Regions from separate parts of the Homo sapiens genome. Here region 2 is linked to region 1. The links are contacts of gene promoters, found by promoter capture Hi-C in human tissues and cell types (Jung and others, 2019). All regions are on one chromosome and are shown on one strand. The core of a region is centred on a gene start or on the middle of the fragment in contact, and the rest is flanking DNA. Distances in the headings are between cores, read along the strand shown. Region 1 holds the start of CRISPLD2 (cysteine rich secretory protein LCCL domain containing 2). Region 2 has its middle 26 kb from the start of LINC02176.

What was found. Contacts are between HindIII fragments. The study calls those that stand out against the background at their distance.
Region 2: a fragment that was not itself captured here is called in contact with the fragment with the promoter of CRISPLD2 in region 1 in 1 of the 25 tissues and cell types used here (mesenchymal stem cells).

Annotation. Positions count from the first base shown.
Region 1 is chr16:84,815,847-84,823,787 of GRCh38, forward strand. CRISPLD2 (cysteine rich secretory protein LCCL domain containing 2) reads left to right here and starts at 4,139. Exons shown (of 15, transcript NM_031476.4): 1 at 4,139-4,287. RefSeq lists a silencer at 3,912-4,101. The HindIII fragment of the contact is 19,202 bases long and covers 1-7,941 here.
Region 2 is chr16:84,949,941-84,957,881 of GRCh38, forward strand. No RefSeq gene overlaps it. Among named protein-coding and RNA genes, the nearest start is that of LINC02176, 26 kb to the left of the region's middle. The HindIII fragment of the contact is 5,993 bases long and covers 1,688-7,680 here.

The DNA of each region.
Region 1 (7,941 bases), core at 2,889-5,388:
CGCCCCCAGAGCTCCCCACTGTAGGGTCTCCACTGCCCCCAGAGAGTGGCCTGCCGGTGTAAGATGTACAAGGTGTCACCCTTGCCCCCTCCTCTCCAACAAGGCAGACAAGTGGGTCCCATGGAGAGCCTTGGAAGATCATGATTGGCACCTGTTAATACAGAGGTGGCACCATTTTTCCAAGTCTTCTGGAAAAGAGTTAGAAAAATGGCACCACATCACACATCACAAAATGGCACCCCTATGTCTCCTCGCCTCAAATTGTTAGTGGGTTTTTGTTTGTTTGTTTGTTTTGTTTTTCCTGTGAGACAGGGTCTGGCTTTGTTGCCCAGGCTGGAGTACAGAGTGCAGTGGTGCAATCACAGCTCACTGCAGCCTTGACCTCCTGAGCTCAAGCCGTCCTCCCACCTCAGCCTGCCGAGTAGCTGGGACGACAGGCACGCGCCACCATGCCTGGCTGATTTTTCTATTTTTTGTAGAGACGGGGTTTTGCCATGTTGCCCAGGCTTGTTAGTGGTCTTTGATGCCAAATTGAGGGCTGGTGACATTCTGCAGCTGCTGAATGGGTGTGGCAGGAACAAATGAAAAGCTGGGACTCCCCGGCCTTTGCTCTTGATGTCCAGTTCATAGAGCCTCCAATAAAAATAAATGATGAATAAGAAATTGGTGTGAGGACAGGAGCCCTACAGCAATCACATCGAGAGGAAAGAACGACCTTGATCTTTACATCACGTAATTAAACATTTATGACCGCCGGCCCCAGCCACCGTTCTGCAGACATGCATGCGGTCCTTCTGTCGGCCCATCTTGGTCCCAAGAGAGAGTGGGCAGAGGGCTGGGCTCTCCAGGGTGGCCCCACCAGGCTTTCCTGTTCGTTTTTCCAGGTTGGGCTTCATTGTGACCAGAAGGATGACTTTTTTCCTTTGTCTCAAACTGTCCATGACTTAACTCCCTGCCTGGGTAGCAAATAGGAGCCTTTCCTGGGATGTCCAAGGGTATCAGTGACCAGTCCCTTCCCAGGGGGCACTTGGGACGGGACTGGCCATCTTGCCCCTTTCCTTGGTACAAGTTGGTGCTCTCCCATCTGGGACTTCCCAGGGGTCCCCCTTGCCCATGAAACACCATTTTTTTTTTTTCAAATTCAAATGTTATTTTTTGGAAATTAGATTCTGAGATTGCAACATGATGGAAAAGTTGATCACCACTAAACTCCTCTCTCTCTCTTTGCTTTACTGGCTCTAATAATAACGGTATTAACTAACACTTTCTGTGTGTCAGGCCACGTATTACTTCCCATCTATTAACCATTTGTGCCCACAGAGAGAGACAGAGATGCCATTATTACCACATTCATTTCACAGATGGGGCATGGAACGCAGCGACATTAAGTGACTTGCTCAAGGCCAACAACTTGGAAGTGGAGGAGCTGGGATTTGAACTGAGCCTGATGCCGGATGATGACACAAACCAGCAAGCTAAGGATTCAGTCTGCCCCGTGGGTGAGACTGCCCGGACAGCAATCGTGGCTTGCAGAGCAGTGGTCTCTGGTTGCAGCTCTGCCAATGGGGTCCTTGGAGCGTCTGGGCTGGGCTGGGTCTCCCCAAAGCCAACTTGGGCCGGTGAGGAGCCTACAGGGTTGCCATACAAAGGATCTGTAAGGAGATGAGGGTTGGATTAGCAAAGTGGCAAACATTTCACTATTGACAACTGCCAACCCCCGTTCCACCTGCTGGGCCTATGTAGAGGCTGATTCCGTGTAGCTTTCCTTCCTCTTTGCTGGAGTGGGGATGGAGTAGGGACCCAGTTCATTCCATTCCCCTGCACCCAAGGTTTCATGGTCACAGGCAATGGCAGCCACGTGGGTGAGAGTGTGAATTCAAATCCTGGCTCTTCTATTCAGAGGCTGTGTGGCCTCAGGGAAGTGACTTACACTCTCTGTGCTCAGTTCCATCATTGAAAAAATGAGGCTAATAACAGGACCAGCCTGGAGGGTTGTTGGGGGTGGCAGGATTTGGCAGTATAATGCTTTGGGGTCAGGTACTCAGAGGCATCTGTTTTGTTGTTGTTTGTTTGTTTGGTTGGTTGGTTTTGTTTTGAAATAGGGTCTTGCTCTGTCACCCAGGCTGGGATGCAGTGGCTCGATTTCAGCTCACTGCAACCTCCACCTCCCAGGCTCAGGCAATCCTCCCACCTCAGCCTCCTGAGTGGCTGGAACCACAGGCATATGCCACCATGCTGGCTACTTTTTGTAGCAACTGGATTTCATCATGTTGCAGGCTGGTCCTGAACTCAAGCCACCTGCCTGGGCCTCCCAAAGTGCTGGGATTACAGGCCTGAGCCATCGTGCCAGGCCTCCAAAGGCATCTGCTAACACAGATCTCTTCTCCCCTTGGATTTGTCTTTTGTCAATCCAAGGACTGTTGTTCTGGAACAGTCTTATTCACTACTGAGCCCTCCAGTGCTTGAAACAGAGCCCAGCACATAGTAGGTGCTTAATTATTGGATGACTGCATGCCAGTTGAGTGCCTCTGAAGAATGATGCTTCAAAGACTGAGAAAAGTAAAACAAAAAGAGGAAAAAAAGATAACAGAAAACATCTGCATTATTATTATCTTTTTGAGATGGAGTTTTGTTCTTGTCTCCTAGGCTAGAGTGCAATGGCGCCATCTCAGCTCACTGCAACCTCTGCCTCTCAGGTTCGAGCGATTCTCCTGCCTCAGCCTCCCAAGTAGCTGGGACTACAGGCATGCACCACCATGCCCGGCTAATTTTTGTATTTTTAGTAGAGACAGTGTCACCATGTTGGCCGGGATGGTTTCGAACTCCTGATCTCAGGTGATCCGCCCGCCTCAAACTCCCACAGTGCTGGGATTACAGGTGTGAGCCACCGCGCCCGGCCAGTCTGCATTATTCTGTATCTGCATTTGAGCCGCACCAAAATCTTAGGCAAGCCTTCCCTGTTTGAGTCCACGTCACGCAGGCAGCCTTCCATAGTCCTTGTTCCACCCATTCCCCATCCTTGTTTCTCCCACGTGCCCTAGCTCGTGGGGGCCCCAGACTCTGAGATCCCGGAGGTGTCTTGTTTGTGCCTGCTGTATAGCACAGGGCCCGGCACAGAGCGACTCGATGGGTATTTGGGGAATGAGTTAATGCTGGAGGAGCTAATTCCGGTGTCTTGGTGCGGAGATGAGCAGTGCGGACAGGCCCCCTCCTGCCCTTGGGCCCCAGCACCTTACCGCGCAGTGCCTGCATACCCGTCCACATTTTGTGACTGAGGCGGGAGCACGGGGCAGTCCCTTAGCTCTTAAGGAACGTGGATTTACCTGTTTCAAAGGTGATTTCGTCTGGCTCTAAATTGATTTCCGTATGTACCTGCACAGGTTAAAAATGCTAAATGCCTCCGGGCAAAAGAGATATGAACATGCTGCACTGCTCCTAGCTACGGGACTTGGGGCACGCTCTTCTCCAAGCCTCAGCTACTGGATCTGTGAAATGAGGTGATTTCCACCTCCCTGGATTCCTGGGAACGCGTCCTAGGGTCGTTGAAGGTAAAGTGCGGAGCCTGGATCCCCGCGCTAGCGGCCCCATCCGGAAACAAGTCTCCCTTTCTTCGTCTGCAAATTGGGAAGAGGGGGCCTAAGTTTTCTGAGCACGTGTAGAGGGTGGGAGTCACCTCAGTAACTGTGTACTCTGCACCGCGCCACAGTTCACAGCGCCCAGCCCTTGCGGATTTCATTTGCTAAAATCCTGGGAGGTCGCCTCCTTATTCCTATTTTCCAGTTGAGCTGCAGAGAGCTGGGGTTTGGTAAATTTGCAAGCCCCTTGTGGGAAGCGCTTGGCACCGCGCCAGGCGCATAGTAAGCGCTCAATGAAAACTATGCTTGTGTGGCCAGTGGCGAGGGAGCTGAGCGTCTCCTTGTCCCTAGCCGGCCCTGGAGGCCAGCGGCCCCGCCTTCCTCGCCCACCCGGCGCCCGCGCCTCAGCTGCCCCCCGCCTCCTTCAGCCCGCTGAGCCTGCGGGGCGGGGCCGGGGGCGGGGCCGGTGATGCTCGGTCCTACCAGCGCCGCCAGCGATCTGGGGGCGTGGCCTCCGGGCTCCGGGGAGCCTACAAGAGGCGGTACGCTGAGCCCCGGCACCCACTCGCATCCCAGGGCGTCTCCGGCTGCTCCTATTGAGCTGTCTGCTCGCTGTGCCCGCTGTGCCTGCTGTGCCCGCGCTGTCGCCGCTGCTACCGCGTCTGCTGGACGCGGGAGACGCCAGCGAGCTGGTGATTGGAGCCCTGCGGAGGTAAGTGTGATTTCCATGCTTCTCCCTTTTGCAAACTGTTACCCCCCCGAGAAGCTGGAATAACTAGGACAGATGCCACCTCGCAGGGCTGACTGTGTGCTGGCACCACACCGAGTGCTCTGCTTGCATAGCGGAACACAGCTTTGCGACATGCCCTTTTGCAGATGGAGAAACTGAGGCTCAGCGAGGACAACTCATTTGTCCAGGACCTCGCAGCCAGGACTCCAAGGACCCAGGATTCAACGCCGATCTGAGCGCAGAATCCTGCTCCTTAGAGGCTGTTTACTCTCTTGCCTTCCTCGTGCAGTTCACTAGCATTTGTTGCATTCCTGTGTTCGTAGTGGGTGTCAATAACTGGAAAGCTGATGGCATGGATATGGCAGGCATTAGAATGTGTCCTACTCATGTCTGGAGGACCAGGGTGATCTAGTGGCATGTGCATTCAGCTGCAGTTTAGAGGGCCACGCCCCTCTGTGATTTCATTTGCAAGGTAGCCTTCTTCCCACATTTCAGATGAAGATGCTGAGGGTCAGAGAGGTGAAGTAAGTTGTCCGGGCAGAGCCAGGGCTGGAACCCAGCTCTGTCTGTCTCCAGAGCTTCAAATGGATGTGTAGAGACTTGGGGCCATGTCAGGGTTCTGCAGTCTGGGGGAACACGTTTCTGGGTTTCTTTAGCCAGAGCGGGCACCTGCATAACTCCTGCGTGGGGAGAGTTACCCTGGAAGCGGAGGGCTCACTCTGGAGTGTGGGGGAGATCGGTCGTCCCACGTGGACAGAGCCAGGGCTAGTCCCTCATGTGCTGCAGACCCAGAGCCTCCCTTGCTAAGGCTGGGCTGGTGGACAAGCCAGGGAGGACTTCGCTGATGCCTGCTCATCGCAGTCCAACTTGAATTGGGCGTCTCTCAGCCAAAATGTGAGTTGCTGCCCTGGCTGAGAGAAGCATCCCGTGCAAATGCCTAGCTTGCCTTGCAACCGAGAGTGGGGTTGTGAGTTTCCCCTTTGGGCCTTTGGACCTCTTGCCCTGGTAGAATGGGGTGAGCCTGCTTTCCCCATCCAGGGTCTGATGTCTGACAGTGAGGAGAGCCTGCAGAACAGGACCGGGGCGTGGTCCTTTCCAGTAGACTGAGGCCATGAGTTGTGACTGTCGGCTGTCCCAGGGCTCCTTGGGTTGTATGCACCTGATTTTCTGCTTCTGCCCCTGATCTGGCTGTTCCCACTCAGGAGAAGGGGTGGGTGTGTGACTGTGTTGCCTGTGCGGCAGGCACGCGGTCTGTGCCACGCAGTTTACCTGTATTGTCATCGCTGCAACACCCCGGGGAGTAGGCCTCTTGATGCCCACTTCACAGCTGAGGAAACTGAGGCTCAGCAAGGTGAAGTGCTTGCCTAAGATCCCCCAGCTGGTATGGAATGCTGTCACCCCCAGGTGGGTCCTATCTGCACTCTTGACCCTGCTTTCTTTAAGACACTTCCCTGCCCACTGCCAACTCCACCCATGAACCTGACCTTCACACAGGTGATGTTTTGTCTTACAGGGGCTCCAGTTAAAACCACTGGACAATGTACCCAGGGAGGAGAAACCAAGAGGGTGATTTTGATTTTTTCAGAGTTTCTTAAGATGTGAGAGTAGGAATAGTAATAATGCCATTTGTAATAATACAAGCAGCTGACATTTACATGATGCTTAGTACAGACCAGACATGCCCAGGGTTTCCACGGATGAGCTCACTGCCTGCTCTATTAGCTGGGCACTTTTTACAAGGAGTTAGTTGAGGCTCAGAATTATTAAGGTGTGTGCCCAACATGACACAGCCAGGGCGGGGTAGAGCTGCCGTCCAGGCTGGGCCCTGCCCCAGATTCTGGGGGAAGGTGCCCATCTAATGACCAGCCACATGACTGTCCCAGCAGAGCTTGCTGCTAGTTGAGGCTTTCTGTGCCATGTGGGAGTTTTTTTAACGTTGGCAGGGATCTGGGTCCCTGGTCCCTGTTGGGGTGAGGCTGGGAGGGGATCAACTGACCCTGGGCTTGGGCTCAACATTGCTGACAGGTACTGAGAGCCCCGTCCCAGGACCCAAATCAGTGCTGGTTCTGAGTCCTGCCTCTGTCCTGGAGAGGAGAGTTGGTTTGACTGGGAAGGCCTGAGCTAGGGAAGAAGACTGCGAGGTCTCTTAAAACCTCTGCACTTCATCCCTCAAAAGACCACAAATTAAGTATGTGGCCCTTTGTAAGTTGCATTTGAAAGTTTTTGGAGGCAGGACCCTCTGACGTCTTTGGAGGTCAGAAAGTTTTTGGAGGCAGGGCACTGACCTCTTTGGCCTGTGGGAACTGGAACTTTTCTTTCCTCTGTCACCAGCGTCATTTGCTGTGTGTGGGAGGTGTCTGCATGTCTGCCTGCGCCAGACTCAGGAGGCTTTTTCTTTCTTTTTCTTTTTTCTTCTTTTGCAAACGCACTGGTTTTTGATCAGTCCCAGATGTGCAAACCCAGGATCACTCAAACGGGCTGACGGCTTGTCAGGAAAGGAAAATTCAATCTGGGCATATTTCACTTCGTCTTCAGTTCATTGAGTGGAACAGATGCTCAGACCTTCCAGGGACAGGGACCTAAAGCACGTTGTAAAGTCTTAAATAGAGCACGCTGAGTTCTGGGACAGGCAAGGGACAGGTAGATCTGGGTGGTGGTTAATAGGATGGGCCATGTTCTGTTTTTCTTTTTCCTGAAAAGATGTATTGTGGTAAAAATACACATAAACATAAAATTTACCATTTAACCCATTTTGAAGTGTACAATTCAGTGGCGTTTAGTACATTGGAAGTATTGTGCAGCCACCACCACTAATTCCAGAGCGTTTCATCATCTCGTAAGGAAACCCCAGGCCCATTAGGCATCATTCGCCATTCTCCTCCCTTCAGCCGCTCATCTCCTTTCTGTCTCTACGAACTTGCTTATTCTGGACATTTCATGTAAATGGAACCACACAATGTGTGGCCTTTTGTGTCTGGCTCCTCTCACTCAGCATCATGTTTTCAAGGTTCATCCATGTTGTAATGTGTATGAGACCTTCGTTCCTTTTTTATGGCTGAGTAATATTCCATTGCATTAATAGACCACGTTTTGTTTATTCATTCTTCCACTGAAGGAAATCTGGGCTGTTTCCACCTTTGGCTTTTACAGAGGCTTCTGCTGTGAACATTTGTGTACAAGGTTTTTTGAGGGCGGATGTTTTCATATCTCTTGAGTGTTTACCTGGGAGGGAATTGCTGGGTCATATGGTAACTTTATGTTTAACTTATTGAGGAGACTGTGGCCTCTTTTTTGAGTTCCTTCTTGAAGCATCAACTCAGGTCATGTCATTCCAGAATGTGTTGCTGGCCTTCTCCATGGGTGCAGGGAAGCCCTGGCATTTGGCATTTGTGGGCAGTGTTGGCGTGCCACCTGGGTCACAGCAGCAGCAGGCAGGGAATCCTGAGACATCGCCCTGGGGGAGCCCTGCCTTCTACCCCAGGCTGTACAATGACGAGTACTCTTGGACAAAGACCCCTCTTGCAAGGCTGCGAGGACATCATGGTCCAGCCCGAGGGAGATTTATCTTTGATTGTCTTGAGTGCTGCATCAGCTAAGACAAAAACCACAGAGTCAGAGGGAAAAAAAACGTCCTGA
Region 2 (7,941 bases), core at 3,434-5,933, 130 kb after region 1:
AACTCTTCAAGGGCTCCACTCAAGGGCTAAACCTTTGCTTCTTGAACCGGCTTTGCAATTACCGTATTTCATCAAATATGAGCTGCCACTGCAGGTGAGGAGCATCCTGATTCCAGAGACATTAAAATGGAAAGGAGGTGTGTTTCTCCAGTTTGATAAAAAGAGAAAGTGGCCTGGACTCCTTTTGACTCCCACATCCAACTAACACCTCCTTCAGCTTTCTGCACAGCCATGTAATTATCTTCCCAGCTATCCTAGCCCTCTCCCTCTCCCTCCAGGTTGGCATCGGCTCCTAGTTCTCTAAACAGAAGGATGTCCTGCCTCAGGCCTTCGTACATGCTGTTCCTTCCATCTGCACACCATTCCTGAGCCCCACATGACTCCCTCTCTCCCATTGTCCTGGTCTCTGTTCAAATGTCACCTAAGGGCCACCGAGCTGCACAACCTCTGGAGTGCCGTGCCCATCACCCTTCACCCCCTGCCTCAGCTGGACCCATTCCTCACAAGCCAGAGGAATTTTACTCTAATGGTGGAATTTCAGGCCAAGTAGAAAAATATATTTCGTGTGTATGAAGAAAGGGGAAAAAGAACCCTTCTCTGAGACCTCAAGTTATTATTTAATTGATTAATTTTTAGTCATTGATTAAATTATTAAATAACAAATGAAATCAATTGTATTAATTTCTTAGGAGTAAATTATTTTTCCACTGCACTCCAGCCTGGACAACAGAGCAAGACCCTATCTCTAAAAAATTTATATAAATCTATTGCCAATTTATTAATTGCTATTTAACAATGAGTTCCACCAACTGAGGGCGCTGGACCAGGCATGGTATGAACCTAAAGAGCCACACCCTTATGATCTACTGGGCCCAGTAGGGTCTGACCCTGTGACCTGTCTGGGCCCATTCCCAGCGCCTGCTGCTGCAGCCACACCAGCCTTCCCCCAGCTGCCACAGAGCCTTTGCTTCCTGACCACCTTCAAGCACTCCTAGATCTTGGCCCCCTAAGCCAGCTCGGCCCCAGGGTGATTGCACTTTTCCTGCCTTTGGGCAGCAGGTGGTGTATCAGTCAGGACTGGCCACATTGTGCCGCTGTGACAAACAAACCCCAAATCCCAGTGGCTGAAGACAATAAGGATGTGTTCCTTGCTCATTCTCTGTGTCAGAGGCCAGCGGGGGGTTCTGCTCATCATGGACACTAGGGGGCCCCAGCTCAGGGAGTAGCCACATCTCAACGGTTGCCAGCAGCCGTGCCAGAGGCGCTCACGTTGGTGAGTAAATGCTCCAGCCTGGGCAGGGACGCATGTCTCTTCTGCTCACATGCTTCCCGGCTACAGGTAGGAGAATGACAATGCGTGCCACATCCCCTCAAAAGGGGCAGAAAGTCTAATCCTACCAGGTGCCTAGAAGAGAGACAACCAGAAATATTTGGTGCCCAGCACTAATATCTATACCAGGTGGCGTTCAGTGAGCATCCAGTGCAATACAGCTTCCTGAGCAGCTCCTAGGTGCCAGGCACTGCACAGGGCATAGGGAACCAGCAGTGAAGACAGACAGTGGACAAGCCAGGACAGAACTCATGACTTCACTGCATGGGTGGCGCCTGCTGCAGGGAGAATGCTGGGCTCCAGCATGTCGAGCAGGGTCCAGTGACTTCAAGGAGGGGTTTAGAAAGGCCCCTCACTCTGGGACCAGTGTTTCAGGTAAGGCCTAAAGGGTGACTAGGACTTCTCTGGGTGAAGATGAGTGGAACAGCCTTCTAAGAAGTGGGCGGGGCCGGGAACAATGGCTCACACCTGTAATCCCAGCACTTTGGGAGGATGAGGCAGGCAGATCACCTGAGGTCACGAGTTCAAGGCCAGCCTGGACAACATGGTGAAACCCCATCTCTATTAGAAATACAAAAATTAGCTGGGCACGGTGGCTCATGCCTGTAATCCCAGCACTTTGGGAGGACAAGGCTGGTGGATCACCTGAGGTCAGGAGCTCGAGACTGGCCTGGAAAACATGGTGAAACCCCATCTCTATTAGAAATACAAAGATTAGCTGGGCGTGCTGGCGGGCGCCTGTAATCCCAGCTGCTTGGGAGGCTGAGGCAGGAGAATCACTTGAACCTGGGAGATGGAGGTTGCAGTGAGCCGAGATCGCACCACTGCGCTCCAGCCTGGCAACAAGAGCGAAACTCCGTCTCAAAAAAAAAAAAAAAAAAAGAAGTGGGCATAACATGTGCAAAAGACCTGCGGCTGCAGGAAATAATCTTTTCCAGCAACTGTGAGGAAGCCAGCGTGGCTGGAACACATAGCACGGAGGAGAATAAGATGGAGCTGGAGAGGTCAGCGGCCAGATCATTCACAACTTTGTACACCGGCTTGTGAGCCCCAGCCCTCATCCTGAGAGCCATAAGGAGCCATAGAGGGTTTGTCGCGATGTGGCTCTGAGCAGCACCCTCTGGTGGCCTTTTAGGGAATGACACTCTTAACATACATGGGCAGCTCCAGGCTGCAGACATTGCTGCCCGGCCAGTCCTGGGCTTGGTTCTAAGTGTTACTTGCAGCCCTTCAGAGAATGCCCATTCCATTAACGCTGGGTGAACACCGCTCACAAAAGGCAATAACCAAGTCTGCAGCTGGCGGGAGACATTTGAGATGGCACACCACCAAGTCATGCTCTCCAGGAGACACCAGACAGACAGGCCAGCGCTACACGGAGCTGACCCAGACGGCAGAAGGTCTGGCTAGCCTGGGTTTTCTCCAATGGGTGCCTGGCTGGGACCTGACTTCAGAGGTTGAGCAAGGGGAGGGGATGGAATCCTGATCCCCTTAATCTTCGTGCAGGGCTGGTGAATCTCAGGCCCCAGGCAGACAGCCAGCCAATGGGCAGAGAGGCCAGGAGCTGACTCCACAGCTCCTGGCCTCATCTGGGAAGGGAGATAAACTCCACCAGCCAGACAAAGGGGGCCCCAAGGCCAGGGCCTCCCTCACATGCCTGTGGCCTCTCTCTGCTTGAGACTGCACCATAGGCCGCAGGCCCTTATCAGCCATGGCCTGGGGACTTCCCAAAGTACAGCCTGCCAGCAAAAGACCACCACCAACTGTTTCATTCTTCATTTCAGACAGGATGAATTGAGCCACCTGACCTTTTCTGGAAAGAGGCAAGAGAAGGAATGTTTCCTCCTTCAGTAAAAGACACTCAGACACATGTCCAGTGTCACGGTGCAAAAGGGTCAGGAAACCAAGTCCCCTCCCATCCCAAAGCCCCATTTCCCTTCCACATTGCTGGTGTCTTTTGTCCTTCCAGAGAGCCCCAGCACAGAGCAGCAAATATGAGCTTAGTGATTCCTGGAGAGGGCTGTGTCCCATGAATGGACTGCCACTTGCTGGCTGCTGGCTTTACGTCTACAGGCAAAGGATGTTATGAAATAGCTCCGGAAGTTTCTTTTGGGGGCCCCCAGCACCTCTTCTCCTATCACGACCAGGCTCTGAAAATGAGGCTTCTTGCTCAGGGAAGAGAACAGGTACAGAGGAATCCACACTCAGCTTTGAGCATCAAAATAAGGGTTTTTAAGGTTTAAGTGTTTGATGAGACAGTGGTCTTGAAAGCCAGGCTTTCCTGGAATTCCCAGAGCCACACGTGACCTGACCACAGTGGAAATCAGACAGGGGACACGTGCAAGATGCAGCCCTGGGGACAGAAAGGCAAACAGCAAGGAGGCGGCTGCAAGAGGGACTTGGGGGAGGTGACAGAGGTGACCATCTTGCTACGACCCCACCGGGTGGAGAGATGGAGACGGGGAAAGCAAACAAAACCCACACAAACAACAACAGAAAACCTGCTCTCAGGGCCGCGTAATGACCGGTGCCCTTTTGTACAGAAGCCCCGCCAGGTTTTGAACTTCAAGCAGGTCCGTGGGGGAAGAAAAGGGCCCAGTCCCATGGAAATTTCCTAGTAGGGTTTATTTTGAAGCAAAGGTTTGGCAGACGTGACCCAGTCTCCTTGGCTAGACAGGGCCTCTTTGAAAAGAGTCAAAAACAGCAGAAAGATGGGAAGTGGTCCTAGAATGAGCTGGTTTTAGTGGAATCTTCTTCTTCCAAAAAGAACCGCCAGAGGCCAGCCCAGGCCTCCCTTGCTTTCCAGAATTCAACTCAACTCACCTGTGGCCCGATGAGCTCGGCGATTCAGCTCGCCCTAATTCCCCAAACCTGTGCAGGTTACCTGACGTGGCAAAAGGCACTTTGCAGGTGGGGCAAGGGGCACCTTGCCATAGGGAGGGTAACCCGGGTCATCCAGGTGGACCTAATCGAGTCACACGAGTCCTTAGAATCAGAGAACCTTTCTGAGCTGCGGTCGGAGGGAGCCGTGGTGGAACCTTTCTGAGCTGTGGTCAGAGGGAGCCGTGATAGAACCTTTCCGAGGGTGCTGTGATTACCGAAGCAGCAGCAGAGATGCAACATTGCCGGCTCTGAAGGTGGACGAAGCGGCCAGGAGCCATGGGATGCCAGTGACCTCTGGACGCTGGAAAAGGCAGGGAAACAGATTCTCCCCCAGAACCCCCAGAAGTTACCAGCCCTGTTGACCGTGACCCAAGCCCAGGGAGACTGAGGCTGGGTTTCTGACCTGTGGAACCGTAAATGACAAATGAGGTTTTTAAGCTGCTAAGTCTGTGGACATTTGTTACAGAACCCGTCGAAAATCCACCCGTCATCTTTCTTGAGCTCCTATGTGGCCGTTCCTGGGATGTGATTCCTAATCCTCGTGACCACCTGTGAGACTGGGCCTGTGATCCCCAGTTCACAGATGGGGAAACTGAGGCTCTCTGAGATGAACTGACGCCCCTTGGGGACCTGAGCAGGGACGGGAACTCCAGGCTGACTCCAAGCTGCGTGGACCTCCGGCTGCCTACAGGTGAGGTGTGTGTCTAACTGCCTCTCAGGGGAGAGGCTGGGACTTGGTGACAGCCTGTGCGGAAAGTGCTGGCACAGAGGAGGGGTTCAGGCCACGTCAGTCCTCTCGCCCCTTTTCCCAAACATCTGCTGACACAGCTCCATTCTGGCTGCTAATTGGGTGACAGATTCTTCCTGATTGCCACTACAAAGCTATTATAAAATCAACCCTGGCCGGGCGTGGGGCTCATGCTGTAATCCCAGCACTTTGGGAGGCCAAGGCAGGAAGACTGCTTGAGGCTAGGAGTCCAAGACCAGCCTGAGCAACATAGCGAGAGCCCATCTCTACAAAAACAATTTTTAAAAATGAGCCAGGTAGGGTGGTGCACACCTGTGGTCCCAGCTACTTGGGGTGTTGAGGTGGAAGAATCACTTTAGCCGGGGAGGGCAAGGCTGCAGTGAGCTGAGATGGTGCCACTGCACTCCAGCCTGGGTGACAGAGCAAGACTGTCTCAAAATAAAATCAGCCCTGGGCTCCCATGGGCAAAAAAACTACTTACCCCCCACACCCTGTGCCCTCTTGGTGGGTAAAAGGCTAAGAAGCTCAAATTGGCAGGAATGTGGTTGGGGCCCCGGCCACCCATGTTGGCCCTGTCTGATCGCTGTGTGACCTCAGGCCAGTCAGCACACCTCTCTGGAAATGTGTTGTTTGGTTTGGCAGAGCTCCCAAGGTTCCCTGCAGCACCAGCTACCTGGGAGCCGCTCTGGTCCCTGCCTGGGCACTGGGGATCAGGTCGGGCTGGCGGCTGCTAGGTGTCAACACCTGCAGCCTGGCAGGTGCCCCAGAGCCCTCCAATCAAGGCCAAACCTTCCTGCCCTCCCGTTCCAAAAGTCAAAGGTGCTCCCTCCCCAGGGAGCTTAGGTCAGGGCCTGGCCCTAAAGCTCTGTGTTCCACCTGGCTTGGCTGACCTCAGGGCAGCCATTCCTTGGAAGGGAAATAAGCCTACAGCTGCCAGGGAAAGTGGAATGGCCCAGGGGTCCCCAACGGTACCCCCAGGCCAGGAGGTAATGGCTCCTTGGCTCAGTCTTTCTCACACTTTGCTGGCAGCAAAGTACGTTGGGGGGCAGGCATAATGCTGACCCACTCTACCAGGTGGAATTGTGTCCCCGAAAAAGATACGTTTAGGTCCTAATCCCCGAAACCTGTGAATGTGACCCTATTTTGAAATTGAATCTTTGCAAATATAATTCGTTAACATGAGGTCACACTGGAGTAGGCTAGACCTTAATCCAATGGCTGGTGTCCTTAGAAGAGAGAAACTGGGCCAGGCACGGTGGCTCACGCCTGTAATTCCAGGACTTTGGGAGGCCAAGGTGGGCAGATCACTTGAGGCCAGGAGTTCAAGACTAGCCTGGCCAACATGACCAAACCCCATCTCTACTAAAAATACAAAAATTTAGCCAGGCGTGGTGGCTCACACCTGTACTCCCAGCTACTTGGGAGGCTGAGGCAGGAGAATCGCTTAAACCCAGGAGGCAGAGGTTGCAGTGAGCCAAGATTGTGCCACTGGACTCCAGGAAGAGGAAAATTGGCCAGGCGTGGTGGCTCACACCTGTAATCCCAGCACTTTGGGAGGCCGAGGTGGGTAGATCACTTGAGGCCAGGAGTTCGAAACCAGCCTGGCCAACGTGGTGAAACCCCGTCTCTACTAAAAATACAAAAAGTAGCCAGGAGTGGCGGTGCACACCTGTAATTCTAGTTACTCAGGAGGCTGAGATGCAAGAATCGCTTAAACCCAGGAGTCAGAGGTGGCAGTGAGCCGAGACTGTGCCACTGTACTCCACCCTGGGCGACAGAGCGAGACTCCATCTCAAAAAAAAAACAAAAAGGTAGGGGGGAAAATTTAGACACAAACATGGGGAGAAGCCCATATGAGGATGGAGGCAGAGGTTGCAGTGATGTGTCTACAGGCCAGGGAACGCCAAGGACTGCTGGCAGTGAGCAGGAGCTGGACAAGGCAGCAAGGGACACTCCCCTAGAACTTTCAGAGAGATCATGGTTTTGCCCACACCTTGATTTTAGACTTCTGCCTCCAGAACAGAGAGAACACACGTTTCTGCTGTCCTAAGCCCCCAGTTAGCAACACTTTGTTACAGCATCCCCAGGAGACACACACACCTGTCCACTGCCACCCATTGCCCAGTAGTCAACGCTTTGAGGAAACACAAGAAAATCAGGTGTCCCTTGATAAATCCTAATTCAAGAACTGGCCCTTACTCAGATTATGACCTTCCTTCAGTGTTGGGGGCTAAACTGTCCTTTTTTGGAGGGACCGTGGACACAGACGGCTACGGATGTCTATCTGCTGATCTTTTATCATTCTCAAAAGGTTCTTCTGAATTTTTATGAAATTCAAAAGCCTGTGGACATGGGTTTTGGAGTCGAGAGAACTGGGTTCTGGGTCAGGTTCTGCCTCACAGGCCCTGTGTGTGACTCTGGGTGAGGGGTTATGATGCCCTCGGGGTCTTCCAGTCCCCCTGCAGTTTGGAGTTAGGGTCGCTCTTGGCCAGTTGCCAGGTCCCATATGAAATGACTCTACCTCCTTGCTCTTCCCGCCTCCCCTCTCCCTATCCTCTGAGTCTATCCAGCACCGGTGGGGTGCCCCAACCTGCATTTGATACTGCAGAATAAATAAGTAAATAGAAAGTGAAGTTCTTACTTCCACTTGCCCTCCAGAAGCTTGAAACTGCCTCTAGGGACTTGGCTATTGAAGAAGAGTTCTTTACCTTTCCCGGTGGTGCTGAGTCAGGCAGAACTCCATGGTTGTCAGTGACAGAAACTCAAACCAGAGGAAGCTTCAGCCCCAGGGCCATGCTGAGGGCCACAAAGGCTGAAACCGGGGCCTCAGTGCTGAGAATGCACGTTCTTGCCATCTGTTCCTGTCCTGGCTGCTCTGCAGGGACCTCATTTTCTCCCCAAGTGGGCAGGTTTTTCTCCCAGCAGTGGGAAACATGATGCAGGCAGCCCTGGCTTAGGTCTGCTTACCTTGGTGAAAAAG